Linked DNA regions of Homo sapiens: all the other regions are linked to region 3. The links are contacts of gene promoters, found by promoter capture Hi-C in blood cells and fetal thymus (Javierre and others, 2016). All regions are on one chromosome and are shown on one strand. The core of a region is centred on a gene start or on the middle of the fragment in contact, and the rest is flanking DNA. Distances in the headings are between cores, read along the strand shown. Region 1 overlaps LOC124907910 (a long non-coding RNA gene). Region 2 has its middle 92 kb from the start of NRAL. Region 3 holds the start of HOXD-AS2 (HOXD cluster antisense RNA 2). Region 4 has its middle 22 kb from the start of NRAL. Region 5 has its middle 75 kb from the start of NRAL. Region 6 has its middle 27 kb from the start of NRAL. Region 7 has its middle 30 kb from the start of MIR1246.

Region 1 (2,700 bases), core at 15-2,514, 450 kb before region 3:
CCTAATTCTTTTGTGTTCAAATGGGTGTCCTAAAGACACACATTATTCCTGCCTTTTCATGTTCTATTTTCCTGGATACAGCATTTGATTTTCTTAATCACTTGACGTATGACATAGGTGAATTGAAAAATAGCCCAAGGCTATTCGTAACAGTAATAGCTTCATCCAACTTTAATTCTTAATACTGTGTGCTAAATCGGAAGTTAGCTTTTATTAAAACAAGTTTATCTACGTGGGCATAGGGGACATAGGGTAGTGCTGAGAGGCTGGATGCCTACTGAGCCTGTAGAACTTGAAAATTTTAGAAAGAGACTTGGGAGGGCATTCCTTTACCCTCTTTTGTTTTTTAGAAAAGGAAACCAAGCCTTGGTGAGTGAGTGTGTGTGTGTGTGTGTGTGTGTGTGTGTGTAGTACTGATCAATTAGAGGGTAGGCCTTATCCAATCATAGTGGATTGTGGGTCTTGGAGAGGGAATCCAGGAAGTCTTCTGCAGGTATCAGTTCAATCCTTTGGCTACTGAATTGTGGAATGTGGAGGACATCCTGGAAAACAAACAGTTAGTAAACAGTCAGGTAATAGATAACATAAAGTTTCCTCCTAGTCCTGGGAGAAAGATGGTGTGTTCATTGAAAGCTCATCTGCCTGAGTTAGGATGCTGACTCCACCACTTACAAGACGAATGACTTTGGACAAGTTATTTAACTTCTCTAGGCCTTGCCTCAGTTTATTCATTTGTATAATGGAGCTGGTAATAGTAACCTCACAGGATCACACAGCAAAGCATATGGATGCTGTGCTAAGTGTTTTAAGGTTAACTCTTCAAGTATCCTCAACAACTCTCTCAGGTGAACGTTTTTTATTATCTGAATTTTATAGATGAGGAAACAGAAGCTCTGGCAGTGTGATTAACTTGTCTATCTCACATCTGGTAAGAGGCAGAGTAGGGATTCAACCCAGAAGTCCCACATCAACCACAGCCTTGTGTCAACCAGAGTGTCTCACCCTAGAATCCGCATTCAATATTGATCCTAAAGGCCCTGCTTAGATGGCCTCCCACTGACAGCATTATTTACTGAAAATAAATAAGATGCTTATAAAAGGACTTAATGTGATGAATTCTGCCTACTGTTTTTTCCAGAGGTGTTGATTTGTCCAAGTTTACGCAACCAATTCATGAAAAAAAATCAGGTTAAAGGCCCATCTTCTGGTCTTTGGTCCAGTGTCCTATCCACCCTACACACTGCCTTGAATAGAGCTTTCAAAACAAATGGTAAGATCACTCTGAGAAGCATGGAAAAGTGGATAAAAATGTGAATGATCCAACCAGACAACCTGAGTTCGAATCCTGCCTTTACTGACTTGTCCTGTGATCTTACAAAAGTCTCATGATTTCTTTGTGCCTTAGCTTTATCATCTGGAAAATGGGGATGATAATAAGAATATGATCTATCTCCTCCAGATTATTGTGATGATTACATGAAAAATGCACATAAAGCACTTAGAATAATTCCTGGGACAGTCGTGTAACTCAAGCAATGTTAGTTATTATAACACTATTTTTTTCACTCACGCATATAGCCTCTATGTAATACAATTAATAACTAAATTTCAGAAATGTTGCCTTGTACTTTTCAGAAATATGATGGGTCAGAAGGACTGGTGTGGATATATGGTGGAATAAAGTACTAAATTAGAAGGATAAAAGAGTTATTTTAAGTTTCCTGAAAAGGACATGGTTAAGTCTTAGTTCTGTAATTAGATAATACTTCAAAGGATTTTAGTAACATTAGAGAGAAGGAGGTCTGAGAAAATATTCTAGCTGAAAAAGGAAAAATTTGGAGGGGAATTCATGAAAGCATACCGCATCCCGGTAACATTAAATTTTGCTAAGGGAAGGTTTGGGCTTGCAAGAATCATAATATTATTCGAATCAGAAAGGGAGATCAAACTCAGCTAAATGTAATTTGCATTAAACATTTTATTTAAAATGTCTATTTTTAAAGAAAATATAGGATTTAATGTGTATTGGCATGAATGGAGAATTAGAATTAGCCCAAAATACACATTAAATCCAAGTTTTTGGAGGAGAGAGCATAAAGATTTTTTAAAATCTATTTCTCCTTCCTTCGACCCCCATCAAAATTTTATTTAATTCTTCACAGAGCACAGCGAGTAGATTTCTGCTTCTTCGCCCTTTTAATGCGTTCAACTTGGTTTTAAGCACGCATCAGAAAGCAGCTCATGATGAAAGCCTTTTGTTGTCTGCAGACAGAAATGTCAGAAACTTAGCCCTGGTCAGTGCAAGGTATAAAAGAACTCCCCCTAATGCCATCTGTCCTTCAAGATCAAGTTCTGCACAGCTGCATACCCGAGATGGCCTGGGATCACCTGGGTAACCTCTGGGTGATGTTCATATTTGAGATGTGACCTAAGATGGGGAAGAAAGGGGAGAAATAGCAACATGATACTTAACAGATTCTGGCCCAAGCGATCACACATTTTGCTTCCTGCAACTCATAAATCCATTATCTTCAAACTGGGCTGCTCACATTGCAGGCATTCCTCTTTAACAGCTGCAAATGATAAGCTTTACTCTATATAGCTTTCTTTAAAGTACTTTAGAGATATGATTAACCTATATATATACATATATATATATATATACACACATACATATATATTTTATGATAGTCCCTATTT
Region 2 (2,700 bases), core at 89-2,588, 280 kb before region 3:
TTTGGAAAGATACTAAACAGAAATCAGGTGGTGTTGCCTGAGCTAGGGTTGCAAACAAGTACATGAATGTGGAAGTGATGAGTATCTTGACACTTAGTATTCCCTTTGAATTTGAAATTTCCCCTGCCTTCTGTTTCTATTTGGAGTATGGATACTCCACATGTTTCACTCATTTATCTTTGTTCCCCATCAGGCTCATACCTTCTTTACTCTACCTCCTAGTTTTACTAAAAAGCTTTCCAAAGATGAAGTTCTAAGATAAAGAATAAAATTCTGGAATTATCTAAGCTCCAGTAACACTGAAGACATGAAAATCCACAGAATCATAGCTCTCAGTGGGTTGATAAATAGCACTTTTATCCTCACCTTGGGTTTCTGGTGTGTTATGGTAATGTAACATGCCACCTTTCTATATTTACTGTCTCTGCCTCCTTTTATTTATAGAGAAAGACAAAACCAGACATCTATATTTTTTGTTTTGTGTGGTTTTGGGGGGCAGATGAATCTATAGGCATATAAATGTGTTATTTTCTAGATAATGTAGTAAGTGCAGTCTAATAAAGTTTTTCTAAAGGCAGTGTGACTACCTCCATAAAGTAAATTTAAAGATAAAAGCACTTTGGAAGTTTGTTTTTAGTTGTTGAAAAAAATAATGGGTGCAACAAATAAAATGTTAGAACAAATTTATATAAAATAAAAACCACACCTGTGTTTCTCCCACTCACATGGCCACTTTCACCGTTTTCTGTGCAGTCTTTGTCACATGCACACGTTTTACAGAGCAATCTTTATTTAAATGCCAGTATGGGTTTTGCTTTTTAAACTTTATAAACACATCCTCAGGTTTCTACACAACAAATAAATTTTTGTTCATTCACTATGAGCCTATTTAATTTAATTACTATTGGTGGCTTAGGTCATAATTACTTCTATTTTTATAGCCCTGTCTTCTGAAGGATTCAAATTGTTTTTAAAATAGCATGTTGGAAACCACATCAGAAGCCTTTCTAGTGCAATAGAAAGGCTATAGATGGGGGAACTGAGGTTCTAAAGAGGCTATGGGACTAGCCAGGATTATTCTTGGCAGATCAAAGACTGTAACTCAATGTTCTAAAACCCCAAACTGTTGCTCTTTCTGCCTAGCCACAGCTGCCTCTGCCAGCCCCTAGACTCTTTGGTCTGGGATGGATGTCAGAGCAGGCATGGGGATCATAGAAAGACAGCATTCCGCTTGTCTGTTTCTCCAACTACAGGGAACCCAGCAGCTGCTATTGTCTCTGCGCAGAGCTGGCTTGAATAGCATAATCCTAACCTGACTACCAAAGATGTGATTACTTTCCTGTCTTTTAAAAACTGTTCGTTATTTCATGGGAAGCTGAGCCCTGGCTCCTGGGTTCCAACACAGTCATAGTCCTAAAAAATGTGTGACAGAATTGGAGATTCTGTGAACATGGTATATACATTTACACAAATCCTACTGCAACTGAGCCGCATCCAAGGACTGCACCATGACACTCTTGGAGGTAATTCCTGGGACACCTCTTGGCACTTTGGGGTGAGACAGGGGCCTGGAGGAAATTCAGAACTGTGTGACTTTTTCAGAGACAAGAAGTCAAACTGGGAAGCCAAGTCCTCTATTCACCGGCTCGATTACCGGCCAGCTGGATCCATGCATGAAAGATTTTCTCTGGGCTGACAGAATTAATGCCATTCACACAGTCACAGGATGTGCTTTATTTCAGCACACGTCCTGAGCTTGCAGAGCCCAGGAGATGCTTTAAGAAGGTAGAGAGTTGAGGGTTCAGCAAGCCTGGGTCTCCTGGTGAGTTCAAATTTCCATGAGTGCCAATTGAAATCGTGGTCCTCTTAGCTGGGTTTTCAGCTCCCCAGCTGTCTACTAGGGAACCAAGAGCACCACCCCACTTCACAACAGACCCAGGCAGTCATCATGCATAACCATGTTTAGTGATAGCTAAGCACAGCTGCATTTGAACTGATGACCTGGTAATCTGCACTAGAAACGTCCATATCCCTTTACAAATCCCTGGAGCCTCGCCATGCATTTGACTTGTTGTTCTTAAAGTTTCACATCATTTTCCACCTGTTAAACCACCACTTCAAGAGAATTATTGAGTCTGAGGAAGAAAGGATCCCACTTTTGCCCTCTCCTTTGTACTTGGAAGCTCATCCACCCCATGGCTAATAGGACTGGTGGTTCAAGGATTCAATACTGGTTTACTCATTTGGGGCATCTGCTTGTGACTGGCTATAAAGAAATCAACACTTAAAGAAATGCATTAGAGACCACCTACACCCCGATGCAGACATTTCTTTGTGAAAAAATAGTGACACATAGCATCCTACAAGATTTCAGATACATACAGATGGCTTTTTCTGGACAATCAAGCACTTGTCAGGAATGTTAGACGAAGAAAGCTTTATGTTCACAACATTATTATGGCTGCCAGCAGCAATTGTTTAATAGGAAACTAGCAGCAAAAACAGGAAAGTCATGTTACTTTTGCATCATGAGTAATACCTCAGTTCATGTTCCCAGAAGTCGGTAACTACAGTAATATGCTTAAAGATATTCATGTGATTTGCTTCTCAGGCCTCCATCCCACCAAAATATGATCATAAACATCTAGTGAATCATGTGTATGTTTGTGAAATATATGTTATCTGTGAAAGAAAAAAAAT
Region 3 (2,700 bases), core at 69-2,568:
GTAGTAGAGAAATAATTACAAAATACAAACACTCCAAATAAAATAACAATCACTCAAGTTTCTTATTTGTAAGTGATCAGAGTTAGTGATCCAGGATAATTTGCAGGCATCAGCTGGCCACAAATCGTGGACCTCCATTTTGAAATGAGCATGATTCCATCATTAATTACGAAAAACACCTTTCCACAAAGATGACATGTTTTGTTCAGAAACTCTTTTATGGCCCACGTTGTTACATTGGAATTTTAAGGGAATAATAAGTTAGGATTTACCACTGGGTGCTTTGGGAACCATACCCTTGCCTTGCGCAGGCAGTCTCATGCGCAATGCGGCAGACTGTCCAAAGGTTTCATTTCACAATGTTCATGAGGGAATAGGCAATAGGATTTGCGAACTGCATCCGCAAGTGCCATTCAAAATCAGTGGGAGAAAATAGCTTTTTTTCTTCTGCAAAGGATTTTCTTTTATGCATATTGTTTCAGTTCAGCAGTTTTGAAGTTGAGGGAAGAATGTTGCAATGTAATATTTATTAGCAGGTGGGAAAAAAAACACAACCCATCAATACATTTAGAGAGCAAAAAGATCTACTCTTTTCCTACTCTGGCAAATAAGAAACACACGATGTTTCAACACAGAGATGTCTTGTATTTCTCAAAGATCTATTGGGTTTTTACCAAGACCTGCACCATATATTCTGATACCATTACCTCCCAAAACATGGATTCATTTTGTGATATAAAAGAATCCAAATTCACCTGACGGATTATCATATGCGGGAAGAGCCTATCTTGAGTTGCTTAAAAATTTCTCTAAGAACTAGAGAAACATTTAAAAATATTTAAAATTCCATCTCATACAACACAAGGCCCAATAAACCATCAACCCTAGAAATTAACCAGCATCAGTCACTAAAGCCTAGATTCAAACACCAAGCACATCCTAGAAACAGAGAATTCACCCCACCCCCACCCAAGCCCCAACCCTCAAAAAACACCTGTTAGCCTCCCAGGAACCTCTGGCCACGGCCACAGGTAAACCACAAAAACCACAGCTCTATATAAAATGCCTTTAGTGACCCCCAGCAAAGTGGAGATGTTCAGTAGTAACCCGTCTATACACTTTCCTAGGGTAGGATTGAGGGGCTCTCCATCTAGGCAGTGGGATCCTGTCTGTGGCTACCCGTATCTCAGAATTTTTGAAATAATACTGCCCCCTTAGACTTCTGAACCCAGCCGGACTCCACCCCAGGCCCCAGGGGACGCCCTAGGAACGAAGTGATTGGGGGAAGGGGCTTAGACAGCGACCCCCCACTTCCCCGGGAAATGTAGGGGAGCAGCCGGACTGAGCTGCCCAAGGGGGTCGGCGCCCCAGGCTTCTTGGTGGCATGCTGGGGAGCGGGGAGGGGGCGATTCTTACCCGAAGGCTGCCGAGCTACAGGCGGCGGTCGGTCCGGGCGTCTGCTGTAATCCACTAGGCGCTGCCCGGCTGCGCTCACTCTCGGACGCAGAGACCCGCTCATGTTGGTGAAGAAGCCGCGCCAGAACCGCGCGGCTGCAGTCACCTCGAGCAGGCCGGCTGCTCCTGGCAGGCGGTGTCGGCGCCGGCGGGGGACTCGGCGCCCAGGGCCCCTTCCAGGCCCTCCCTCGCCGGGCTCCCCACCAGCTCCGGAGGTGGCGGCGATGCGGACCGAGTGAGCGGCGGTGGGGCCAGGCCGGGCGCCGGGCGGGAGCCGAGGCCGCGGCGGACTCCGCAATCCCGCAGCCGGTGACTGGAGCCCACCTCTGCAGAGACAAAGGTTAGAAAAAGAGGGGGTGAGGCTCTGGGAAAGCAGAATGCGGGGGGAAATTCGCCGGGGAAATCAGGAAAAAGGCCGTGAAGGCGAGCGGCGCCTGCACATGACCAGCCGCAGCCAATGACGACCGCAAATAGGTCATAAAAAGGTCTATTACCAAGTTGTAAATTTTCTTCAAACAAAAAGGAATTTACTGCAATTCCTTGCGGATTTTGCACATACAGCTCGCAAGCGCCATGTTTTTTCCTCTTCTGCTTTCTCTCTCCCCCGCCTCCTCTCTTCCTTCTCCTCCTCCTCTCTCTCTCCATTCTCTCTCTCCTTCCTCCCTTCTCTTTCTCTGTCCCTCTTCACCTTTCCCTTTTTCTTCCCTTCGTGGTTCTTCCCTCCCTCCCCGCCTCCTCTGTTTCTTTTTCTAGGATTTATTTGTGTGTGTGCGTGTGTGTGTGTGTGTGTGTGTGTGTGTGTGTGTGTGTTCTTTTCTTTGGTTTGGCTCAAAACCTCTGCGCAGTTGGCCATCGTGAAGGAGGGAAATGAACTCAATGTACTGCTCACGCTCTGGGGAAGCGATCCCCACAGCTACCTCCTCCCATCTCTCACCCTGTGCTAGTCACTTGGCTTCTCCTCCTCTCCCCTCAGGAAAAGGCCTGTCCCCAGAGGCAGCCAACCACTTTCGGTTTCCCCTCCTCCCTCTCATCTTGCAAGCCAGCCCCAGTTACCTTGGGAAGAAAACGAGGGATCTGCAGGCCAAGAAAATGTGCCCCCAACACACCACTCCAACATAAATTGGGGTCCCTCCCATTCCCGGGAGGTTCTGCAGTAGGATAATCACCAACCAGCTTAAAGGCTTCAAATGGTTTTAGGTACTTGTCAACCTCTCCGAAATACCCGTTTGAAACTCTACCACCTGG
Region 4 (2,700 bases), core at 113-2,612, 390 kb before region 3:
AGGGTACAGGAAGTCTCTCTGAATTAGCTTTAATAGGGGTTTGGGTGTGTTTCTCCACTGCCAATATCGTCATTATTGGATTGCATTTCTTTCTTTATAGAGGCCTAAACAACCAAGGGGGGAACTTGATCTGTTGGTTTAGAACTCCAGAGATCTGCCAGACTGCTTACTCTTGTGTTGAAAAAGATACTGGCTAGTTGTTAGGCCATAATATTGAAGTCCTCATACTTTAAAGCAATGTAATTCTAAGCTTCCATGTCTTGTAAATAGCTGTTGACTGACTTGTCTCATAAGTAGGATGGAAAGGAACAGATAGTGGTTCAATGAAAAGAATTCATTTTTTCCTTCCAGTTTTTTTAGGCAAATACATCCTTGTTCTCTAGTTTCATTTCTTCACCATTCCTCTGCACCTTCCTAATATTTAGTATAATCTAATGAAGTCAAACAAGCTATAGGATGTAAGATTTTCAAAATGTCAGCAGCAAAGTACTTATTGCGGTTTTCTTTTCTTATGGCACCAGGAAATAATCAATCTATTTTTATAAGTCTTCCAACCCAACTTTGTCTACTTAAGAAAAATCAGTCTCACTCCAAATGAGATTTATTGAAATGTTCCTAAAATGCCTCCTATTTACCTATCACAAGTGAAACATTATTCAAAATGTGGAAGTGGTTTGTGGAGATGGGTCTTTTCAATTTAAGCCTGTAAGTACAGTTCATAATAAAAACCTGTCAATGAAGTAGATATTTTATCACACCTGTGTTCATTTGGGACTGCTAATTTATCATTAATAAAGCATTTGGCTAGAAAACGATGTCCATATTTGATGATCTGGAAACTTCTTTCTCCCATTTTTATGCCACGATAACTGCCCAGTCTTATTGTTGCCCATTATAAATGTGTAAAGTTTTATGGACTAAGTAATGTCAAATGAGGCAGTGTCAAGCAGATCTGGAGACAAGTTGGGAGCGTTTAGATGGAAAAAGAAGCTGTGCGGTCTATGCCAGTCTTGCTTGTAGTTTTATTGTGTATTGATCCTTTTTTACACACTGATTTAGCATCCTGAATTATGATGTGGTATTTAAATTTAAATACCAATTGAGAGCTCCTATCTCAAAGGTTGCTGTAAGTCATAGCCATTTTTGACTGTGATGGGCTCTGCTTCTCTGGAGTGGGTATGTTATTAGAAATGCTTGTAAAAGACTTCATGGCAGTTAACTATGCAGTGGAGAAGATGTGTGGAGCTTCATAAGCTTCTAGGAAGCAATGAGTAGATTGGTATAAAAAAAACATTCACAAAATCACAGTCTTGAAAGGATCCTTTGGAGGTCATTTGGTCCAGTCTGCTGTCTCTGGTCCAGTGCTGCATTTAGAACATTCCCTGGAATCTTCAGAAAAGAGGTTCCATAGACTTCCTTCCTTGGTAACAAAATTTACCATTCAACAAGCCTATCACTCGGGTAAGCTTTCCCCAGCACCTCCACAAGCCCCTGCAGCTCACATTCACTCCCATTTCTCCCAGATGAAGAGGCATTGAAATCCCAAGTGGTCTACCACAGGAAGAAGTAGAGTACAATGTAATGGTTAAGCTTTTTGAAAATTAGGAGTCCATAAATTTGTAATTAGATATAACACATTCAACTCCATGTGTTATTTACATAGCTTCTATTTGTTGCATGTGCACCAGGGCTATTTTTGTGAGTAGAATATGCCTGAATACTGTGCTAGAACTTCTTTTTTAGAATCAGGCAAATAGGATTGGGTTCTAGAGTTTCTTTTAAAGAGGTGTCAGTTGCCAGTATTGCAAAATGGATACTATATCCCTATGACATTTAATGTTCAAATATAGGAAAAAAGGAAAGAGAAAGAGAAAGAAAGGAGGGAGATAGGGAAGGAGAGAGGAAAAGGAGGAAGAAATCTGTTTAATGATTTTAAGTCCATGTGGAACTCACTCCCAGGATTCTTGAGTCTGCTATGAGGCCATGCCATGTCTCATTGCCCAGCACTGGGGCAACGCAGGGAGAGGGAAGGGACAGACAAACAGCCAGTGGAACATGGATTGTTTTGTGTTCTCTGCAGACGAGAGGGAACGCTGCATTGTTAGGGTGATCCTCCATCACTGGGTCTAGATTCCAGGAGGGTATGGGAGGAGGACGGAGGGGGTAGTGGAAGAATGGAATGTGATTTCATTCATGGCAATCTAAGATGATACCTTTCCAGCTCATCTTTCCTTCCAATGTCTTATGACAAATCTATTAATTCTCCCCTTACAGCAGTGAAAGAGCAAGAGACCCAAAGTAAGACCAGAACATGGTTAAGGTGTGAGTTTTATCTTTTTCATTATAAAAATATATAGGTTGCAGAAATGAAATAATTACATGTGGAATCTCCACTAATCAATACTATTTATAAAAATGCAATAATTCATCAGGCTTTATAAAGAGTTAAACTTTGAACCTCTAACAAGTTAAATATAACTTTTTCTTGCAGTCAAAATGACTAGTTCACCGCACCCTGTGTTTTACACAATTATCATGTTTAACTTTCATCCAGTGGGTTACACAGTTGTTCTCAAAGTGTGGTCCCTGGACCAGTGACATAACCTGTGAACTTGTTAGAAATGCAGATTTCTAGACCCCATCCCAGACCTACTGAATCAGAAACTCTGGGGCTGGGAACAGCAATCATGTTTTCACAAG
Region 5 (2,704 bases), core at 54-2,553, 300 kb before region 3:
TGGTTTCCCATGTGCACACATCCATTAAAACTGGAGTGGTACAATTTAAATGAGTGCAACTTGTTATATATCAGTTATACTTCAATAAAGGGTGATTTTAAAAAATATTTGGAGGCCACTCTTATAAAAGAAAAGGGTCTTGAACCCTTGTGTTCCTCAGCTGTGTTTTGCTGTCATTAGAAAGAATGCCCAAATCTCAGTGACTTACAACAATAAAGGTTTATTTCTCCCTCATGTTGTGTTACCCAGCTCTGACCCATATAACTCATTTGTTTCTGCATCTAGTCCACAGGCCCTGCACACATACACAGAGGTTTTTACTGGCCCTAATCTTTTTTTTTTTGGTGCGACAGAGTCTCACTCTGTCACCCAGGCTGGAGTGGATGGCATGATCTCCGCTCACTGCAACCTCTGACTCCAGGGCTCAAGTGATTCTCCTACTTCAGCCTCCCGAGTAGCTGAGATTACAGGTGCCCACCACCACACCTGGCTAATCTTTGTGTTTTCAGTAGAGACAGGGATTCACCATGTTGGCTAGGCTGGTCTTGAACTCCTGACCTCAAGTGATCTGCCTGCCTCAGCCTCCCAAAGTGCTGGGATTACAGGCGTTAAGCCACCACACCCAGGCTTACTGGCCTTAATTTTAAAATGAGCAAATAGCCAAGGGTCACCAGGCATGACAGCCCATAATATGAAAAAAGGAGGCTGAAACAAACAAGCAGAATAAAAAGAAAGTTGAAGAAAATAAAGATTTTTGCAAGAAGGAAAAAATCTTTAAAAAACACATATAACATTTTTAAATAAGCCTTTCATTTCTAAGTAAATTTAAAATGTGATAACAGAAATGGAAAAAACAATAAAACATTTGAAAATCAGAAATTAGAGCAGAAATAAAATATGAAGTAAAATAAGACAGATGTAAGAAAATCAGAGGACCAGGCTAAGAAGTCTAAAATCCAAATAATAGGAATTACAAAGAGAAACAAAAAGGAAACTGAGAAGAAAAAAATCAAAATAATAATTCAACAACAATTTGAACAAGTGAAGTACATAAATTTTCAGAATGAAAAGTCCTACTAGTTACCCAGAAGAGAACAGATTCATATCAAGGTATATTGTCATGAAATTTCAGAACACTGAGGACAAAGAAAAGATCCTAGACTATTCCAGAGAAATGAAAGCAAAATGGTTGAGAAGCTTCAAGAAGAACAGCATCTGAATTCTTGAGAGCAACACCAAATTCTAGAAGGCAATGAAGTAATCCCTTTAAAATTCTGAAGGAAAAGTATTTCCAACTTTATGTATCCAGCCAAACTCTCATTTAAGTATGAGAGTAGAATAAAGATATTTTTTTCAGATCAACAAGGTCTCAAATCTTACTTCTCATAAATCCTTTCTCAAGAAGCTTCTGGAGGGTATGTTCTACCAAAAAAAAGGGCGGGGGGAGAGGAGGGAATAAACCAGGAAACGGGACCTCAAAAACAAGGGAACCGATACAAAAAAGAGTTGAGGGATAGCAAGGGAAGATAATAGCTATTTGGCAGGCCTAGAAAACAGTCCCATTTAGAGCATATCAGAAGGCGTGTATTCTTCAAGAAGATGTAATTTATGCTTAATGTGTTTAAACATTTTAAAAGGATATTTGTACAATTTGGATAAAGTTAGGATTGAATTCAGTGATAACTACATAGATACTTAACAATAATTTATTAAAAACAAGCATAACTATAAACTCCAGGGAAAACAAAATACTGGACAGGATGGGAAATTTTATTATATTACACTACAGCACATGAGCAAGCATTAGTCATAATTGCTTGCTCAATACATAAACAAGGATTTACATGGTCATAATTATTTAAACACAACACAATGTTGACATAAATAAAATTACTGTATAACTATATCGAGTGGGTGAAGACATAAGATGGGTGTGTGTATTATGGGAAGAAGGTGAAACAGACTTAGAACTTCACCTTCTAAGGGAGATGTCAACGTGCTAGATAATGTCTGATACTGAAAAATGAATGTAGTATCCATAAAAGTATGAAATAAGATGGTAAATTCCAAGAGGAAGGAAGCACTATGCTTGTCCTCAAGCAGAGCAGACTCAAGACAGAAAAGGATGTGCAAAAATTATTTACCATAAATATGGGACCCAGCAGAGAGAGAAACTACTTCTGCCTAAGGATGACAGGAAAAACTTCACAGAGAAAGTGTTGCAGATAATGGGAAAAACTCCCTTCTCCATTCTGTCCTGCTTTTCATGGTAGAATACACTCTCTGCACTCCATCTCAACATGGGTTTTAACTGAGCACATAGTCACTAGAGATCCTCCTTCCCAGCCCCCACTCCTGCTAATGAAGACCATGTTACTAAATTCCAAAGGGAGCAAATGAGATGTTAGCAACTGCTGGATTATATTCTTAAAAGGGAGGCTTTTGTTCTCTATTGCCTCTTTAGCCCTTCCTTAAAGAAGGGCTAAAAGAATATAATAAGAGCACAATAATCAATCTATCTTTTGACATACTAACCCACTTTGAGTAGCATATGCCCAGGAAAATATTTCAAAGAAAACAAAGCTACTTGTACAGAGATGTTTCTAGCAATCCCACTTATACAAGTTTTTTTTTTAAAAAAAAAAAAGAAGAAGAAGAAGAAGCCCCAAATTGGGAAATGAATAAGTAAATTTTGGTGTACTGC
Region 6 (2,700 bases), core at 142-2,641, 340 kb before region 3:
GGGAATAAATAAAATCAGAACCATGTGGGATATATTTCCCTTTATATACATATTGAGGCTATAAAAAATAAAGGGAAAGTATTCAGCTAAAGTTATTTAGGGTTTGGGTTTACGCACAACATCTGAAAAATAGTTCAAGATGTTAGTTGAACCCAAAGTGCAGCAATGTTCACCTTCTCCTACTGAAAATAGAGTCTGTGTAGCAGCTGAGGGAAGACATGTTTAATGTCAAGTTAATGAAAGGAGAAAAAAAGTATGTTGGAGCTGAAAGGACAAGGGAGTGTTCAAATATGCACAGAGAAAAATATGTTTAAAGCTAGACGAACCTTGGCTAGAGAAAAGGAGCAAAGGAACCTGAAGTTGGCCCTGGTTTCTGAGACATGTACATCCCTGGGGCATCGAGTTCCCTAAGCAAACCCCACTTTTTCTTAAGACTGTCTGGTCACCAGGTTTTTCCCTCAAAAATTTAAGCCTATTGCATCTTGGTTATAATAAGGGGTTCTTACAGCCTCCAAAGATAGGTTTGAAATGTGACTGACTTTTAGCTGGATGTTTTAAAAGAACTGACGGGTTTTATGTCTAGGTAGTTGAACTCCTGGATGCCCAGACACTCGTGATAAGTTAGGATGACACCCAGATGCCCCGCAAGAGTGAGAGCCTGAAGACCAACTGCCTGAGGCAACAGAACAAACTCTTAATCTACAGGTCTACTGTTGTTCCTGCTGGGACCCAACGGATGATAGCACTGTCCCTCCATGCACTAGGCGTGCACACATACACACACACACACACAACAGTTTTCTGCAGAACCATAGGCTGTACCTTTGCCATCATTTCTGCAGTACCTACTCTGTCAGGGTTGATGGGAACCATGGGTGGCCTTGAACTCTTTTTGAGCTGAAAATAATCCCTTTTCTTTCTTCATTGGACCTCAAGAGACAAGAGACAGCAATAAAGTTGACTTGTGGCCCTTTAATACTTATGGAATCTGGGATGCTCTTTAAAGAGGAAAAACCCTGCTTCTTGATCCACTTGTAGAAAACTAGAAAGCAAGTCTCAAATCAGACTAAACCAATCAGTAAGACTTTGAGATGGAAGAACAAGATCACATTACCATATCCCATAGGATGTCCTTGGATCAGGGGATGTGAACTTGGCAAAGTCTCTGAATGTCTTTTTGTTTCAATTTTCACCTGTGAAATGTAGGATAACAATATCTCCTCTGCTGAGCTCATAAAGAGATTGTTATGTGACTGAGATTAAATTAATATAAGTGCTTTGAAAGACATAAAACGTCCTAAAACAGAAGTCTCCAGCACTCTCTCTATACTTCGCCTCTGAGCTCCAGGTGGTCTCCCTGGCATTTCCACCTGAATATTTTACTGATATCTCACACTTAACATGTCCAACATGGACTTCTTGATTGTCTCCTACCAACTTCCACCTATTTGAATTTCCCGCATTTTTATGAATGGCTTTACCCAACCAGATGTTTAAGCCAGGAACCTGGGAGCTTTCCTTGAGACCTCTCTCTCTCTTGCGCTCATACTGCCAATTAATCACCATGTCCTGTTGATTCAACTCTACTTTTTCTGGAATCTGGGCACTTCTCTAGATCAAGCTGTATCATCCCTCATCTGAACCACCACAAGAGCCAGCTATGAGTCTCCATGCTTCCCCTCTTGCCTCAGTAGCCATCCACCCCCACGCACCCCCAACCTTCCTCTGCACAGCCATTAAAAAGTTCACTCTCCTCACTGCAGCAAGAACAGTCTTTTCAACTTGGTCTTGTCACTTCCCTACTCAACATGCCCCAGAAGGTCTCCTTCAAGAATATAGACATTCAGTCCTGGCGCAATGGCTCGCACCTGTAATCCCAACACTTCAGGAGGCCGAGGTGGGTGGACCGCTTGAGCTCTGAGTTCAAGACCAGCCTAGGCAATGTGGCAAAACCTTGTCTCTACAAAAAAAAAAAAAAAAAAAATACAAAAATTAGCTGGGTGTGGTGGTATGCGCCTGTAGTCCTAGCTACTTGGAGGCTGAGGTAGGAGGATCCCCTGGACCTGGAAGACCGAGGCTACATTGAGCCACGATCACGCCACTGCACCCCAGCCTGGGTGACAGAGTAAGACCGTGTCTCAGAACAAAACAAAACAAAAAAAAAAAACAAAAAAAAAAACACAACAACAACACAGAACATTCAGAGAAGGCTCCACTATGTTAGAACTTTGAACATGTGACTTAGCCACTGGTCTTGTGGGACACACATACAGAGTTAATGTATCCCCAAACCCTCCCCTTTCCACATTAGCTCTGACAGAAGACTGCCAATTGGGTCTTTCTCAGCCAGTAGTCTTCACTGGACACCCTAAGAAGTGGGGGCCTCATTAAGAGGATGCATGTGTGCGTGTGACTGCTTCTTTGTGCAATCTTAGTGTCTGCCATCTGTTAACCAGCTGTAATTTCAAGAGGGGGACATGGGAGGGAATCAAGTATAATGCAATAAGTAATAAGGTGAGTTTTTTTTATTTGTATTTCTTATTGATACTAAGTAGTTTTAATGATCCAAAAACATCTCTCTCAATTTTGAGTATTTTCTTAATGCCTTAAAAAATTGAAATACGAGCAACTCTGTAACATCTAAATGCATATTCTTGGCTCAGTGGATTATCTAAGACAAATTTTTAATTCAAAACTGAC
Region 7 (2,700 bases), core at 183-2,682, 430 kb before region 3:
GAAGACATGGGGGCAGAATGGTGAAATGTTTTTATAAAGGACTACCTAATCATAGTGACAAAGGTAGATTCAGAATTATTGGGGAAGAAAGGAGAAAAGCTTAGAAAGCCAACACATTAATTAGTAAGTTTGAAACATAGATAATAAATATTATTAAATAAATTGTTTATATGTTCAAACATCTATCTATATATGTATATACTGTATGTAATATATTTTACCATTTTATGCTAACAAAGAATTTTTCTAGCAAAATATTACCAGCGTATCTTAGGTACATATAATTTTAGTGGATTTCATCCCCCTTGAGAATATGTTCTAGATCCCAGAGAATTTAATACAGTTTCATCTAATTTATGTTTTTAAAAATATACTCATGTTTGGAAGGTATAAAGAACAATAATTACTCCAGCAATATTGCTGAACTGAGAATAGAAAGAAATGAAAACTAATATAAAAGTCATAATGGCAAAATGTGTTGAAGTTCAGCAGCCAAGAGGGAAACACAATTGTAAGCTCAGTTGGTCAGGTCACAATGAAACTGATAAAAAAATACAAAGATTAATTACAAAATTATTGGGAAACGTCAAGTAATGTATGAATCATTGACATAGGATCAGTCAGATTCCTCTGGTATTTTGCAGCAGAAAAATGAGAAGAATGGAACTAAAGTCTTCAAATACATTTAATTGCATTCCTTTTTGGATATGTAATATCAATACAAAAAGTTTCGATCAATACTGTAAGTCAAATGAAACATATGCCATGGTCAAATGAAGCATTTGGTTGTAGTATATGAAACTGCCATTTTGTAGGTCAAAATTGGTTGAACTTTAGCAATTTCATAAGGTTCATTTATTGTAATATATGTTATAGTGTAGGCAATTTAGGATAGTTTTTGAAATCAAATGGACATGTATGTATCCCATTTCAGTTCTACTACTTTACTAGCTGTGAATTCTTAGACAATTGGATGCATTAATTTCTCTGAGCTTTACTGTCCCTACCATACAATAGGCATAATAGTATCTATCTTGGAGTGTTGTGTGGATTAAATTAGTGCCTCACACAGGGCTTTTCCCCCACATAACAAAAAGGTAGTTCCCAAAACATTTATTTTAAAGTCAATAGTTAAGAACTCAGAAAGGAGGGAGCTGAGGTTCTACTAAACCTTCTGAGATGCCCCACAATTTTCAGTGTTCTGAAGTTTTGGTTACCTTACAGAAAAACCACACTGAACAGAAGCCAGCTGTCCTTAGAGGTGAGGACATCCCACCTGAATATCTGCTTGAGATCAATGTCAGCTTTATTTTTGAAAGATAACCTGAATTTTGTTTCCACATCCCATTCTGCCAGGGACAGCAGTAGGATTTAAAATAACCAGAAAGACACACAGAATAATTCTTTGAAATTCAATAGCTATTAAATTAGGGAAGGAGGTTTAAGAGTGGGGCGGGGAGCAGGAGCTCATGTAAAGCCCCTCACACTTTGTAAGCAATCTGATAACTTCTGAATGCCTGATTGTATTATTGCCACTGGCCTTACATATGTGGGTTAATTTCCTTCAGGGTATACTTTCTCATACCCCATCCAGCCAGAGAAGTCGGTGCTTAGTAAACTCTGTAGGGTACTGGTGGGTGATATCTTCTCAGTGGAGAACCGGTTTCAAACACCTATTCTGTTTTTCTCAAACAAATCTGCAGAGGAGTACATCCACTGTCTATAAGATTTCTGTATGAAAAATATAGTGCCCTGAAAGTTAATCCAACAATGTGCCTGGGGCTGTGATAGGTGATCTCCAGGCAAAATTTCATTCTCACAAGTCTATGTGTTATCATTGCCATTTAGAGATGAGGAAACAACCTTACGTACATCACACTACTAAGGTAGTAGGGGATCCTTGAATCTGAGATCTCAGCCAATATACCCTGGTGCCTCTAAAAATCAAGACAGGTATCTGTTATAGAGGTTTTATTTTTTTCTTTTGAGTAGAATTTCAACATCAAATAATCAATAAAGATAGACTATATTTTCCTATTTCATTTCCACCATCCTTTAAAATGGGTCAAAATCATCCTGCCTTCCACTAACGACTAAAAGGGTGATCATTTTCTTATGTGATTCCCACTGTTTTACCTTTAAAGGAGACTCGCTCAATGAACTGAATTGTTTTCAACCTTAGCTTTTCTCCTCCCAGTTTTCATCATTGGGTATCATTCCACTTCAGCAACAGTTCCCCCATACCATAGGTTTTCCTGGTGTTAAAAAATATCAGACATTGCCCACTTGCACCTTTAGGAACTTTGCAAGCCAAGGCTCCCCAGCACAGATCAATATTCCACATTAGAGAAATGCAGGAACAAGCCAATAGAATTAGCAGACTAATTTACTGTGCCTCGGCCGCAGCTGGCAGGGACCGCAGAGGGAAGCAAGCAGATGTTTGTTTGCTAATGGTGGCTTCCTTGAGTTGTCAGAGCCCAGTGCCCCAGACCTTCATTAGCCAGTCTGTCCAGCTTAATAAAAAAGGATAAGGGGGTTTTGACTGTGCTCATTTGGTAATGTCAATTGATTTGTTTTCTACCACTCATATAATGTTCCAGGCTTTCCATAGTTACAATGTGGAATGATTGTACAACATTTTTAATTTGTTGTATTGGAAAGGGGAAAATCTTTAATGCAGATGAATCAGAAATTGTTATT

What was found. The method cuts DNA at HindIII sites, captures the fragments that hold promoters and counts their contacts. A CHiCAGO score of 5 or more calls a contact.
Region 1: a fragment that was not itself captured here is called in contact with the fragment with the promoter of HOXD-AS2 in region 3 in 2 of 17 cell types (endothelial precursors and fetal thymus); the score reaches 7.3 in endothelial precursors.
Region 2: a fragment that was not itself captured here is called in contact with the fragment with the promoter of HOXD-AS2 in region 3 in 1 of 17 cell types (endothelial precursors); the score reaches 10.5 in endothelial precursors.
Region 4: a fragment that was not itself captured here is called in contact with the fragment with the promoter of HOXD-AS2 in region 3 in 1 of 17 cell types (endothelial precursors); the score reaches 7.2 in endothelial precursors.
Region 5: a contact is called between a fragment that was not itself captured here and the fragment with the promoter of HOXD-AS2 in region 3, in 1 of 17 cell types (megakaryocytes). The highest score is 6.8, in megakaryocytes.
Region 6: a contact is called between a fragment that was not itself captured here and the fragment with the promoter of HOXD-AS2 in region 3, in 1 of 17 cell types (megakaryocytes). The highest score is 7.2, in megakaryocytes.
Region 7: a contact is called between a fragment that was not itself captured here and the fragment with the promoter of HOXD-AS2 in region 3, in 4 of 17 cell types (endothelial precursors, fetal thymus, megakaryocytes and 1 more). The highest score is 12.3, in endothelial precursors.

What each region holds. Positions count from the first base shown.
Region 1 is chr2:176,585,761-176,588,460 of GRCh38, reverse strand. LOC124907910 (a long non-coding RNA gene) reads right to left here. Exons shown (of 2, transcript XR_007087314.1): 1 at 2,369-2,700; 2 at 1-542. Among named protein-coding and RNA genes, the nearest start is that of MIR1246, 14 kb to the left of the region's middle. The HindIII fragment of the contact is 2,651 bases long and covers 1-2,589 here.
Region 2 is chr2:176,414,649-176,417,348 of GRCh38, reverse strand. No RefSeq gene overlaps it. Among named protein-coding and RNA genes, the nearest start is that of NRAL, 92 kb to the left of the region's middle. The HindIII fragment of the contact is 2,201 bases long and covers 238-2,438 here.
Region 3 is chr2:176,135,716-176,138,415 of GRCh38, reverse strand. It overlaps HOXD-AS2 (HOXD cluster antisense RNA 2), which reads left to right and starts at 1,318. Exons shown (of 3, transcript NR_038435.1): 1 at 1,318-1,795. It overlaps LOC401021 (a long non-coding RNA gene), which reads right to left and starts at 1,804. Exons shown (of 2, transcript NR_148241.1): 1 at 1,417-1,804. The HindIII fragment of the contact is 4,739 bases long and covers 1-2,700 here.
Region 4 is chr2:176,528,650-176,531,349 of GRCh38, reverse strand. No RefSeq gene overlaps it. Among named protein-coding and RNA genes, the nearest start is that of NRAL, 22 kb to the right of the region's middle. The HindIII fragment of the contact is 212 bases long and covers 1,257-1,468 here.
Region 5 is chr2:176,431,771-176,434,474 of GRCh38, reverse strand. No RefSeq gene overlaps it. Among named protein-coding and RNA genes, the nearest start is that of NRAL, 75 kb to the left of the region's middle. The HindIII fragment of the contact is 208 bases long and covers 1,200-1,407 here.
Region 6 is chr2:176,479,828-176,482,527 of GRCh38, reverse strand. No RefSeq gene overlaps it. Among named protein-coding and RNA genes, the nearest start is that of NRAL, 27 kb to the left of the region's middle. The HindIII fragment of the contact is 2,872 bases long and covers 1-2,700 here.
Region 7 is chr2:176,569,478-176,572,177 of GRCh38, reverse strand. No RefSeq gene overlaps it. Among named protein-coding and RNA genes, the nearest start is that of MIR1246, 30 kb to the left of the region's middle. The HindIII fragment of the contact is 2,662 bases long and covers 102-2,700 here.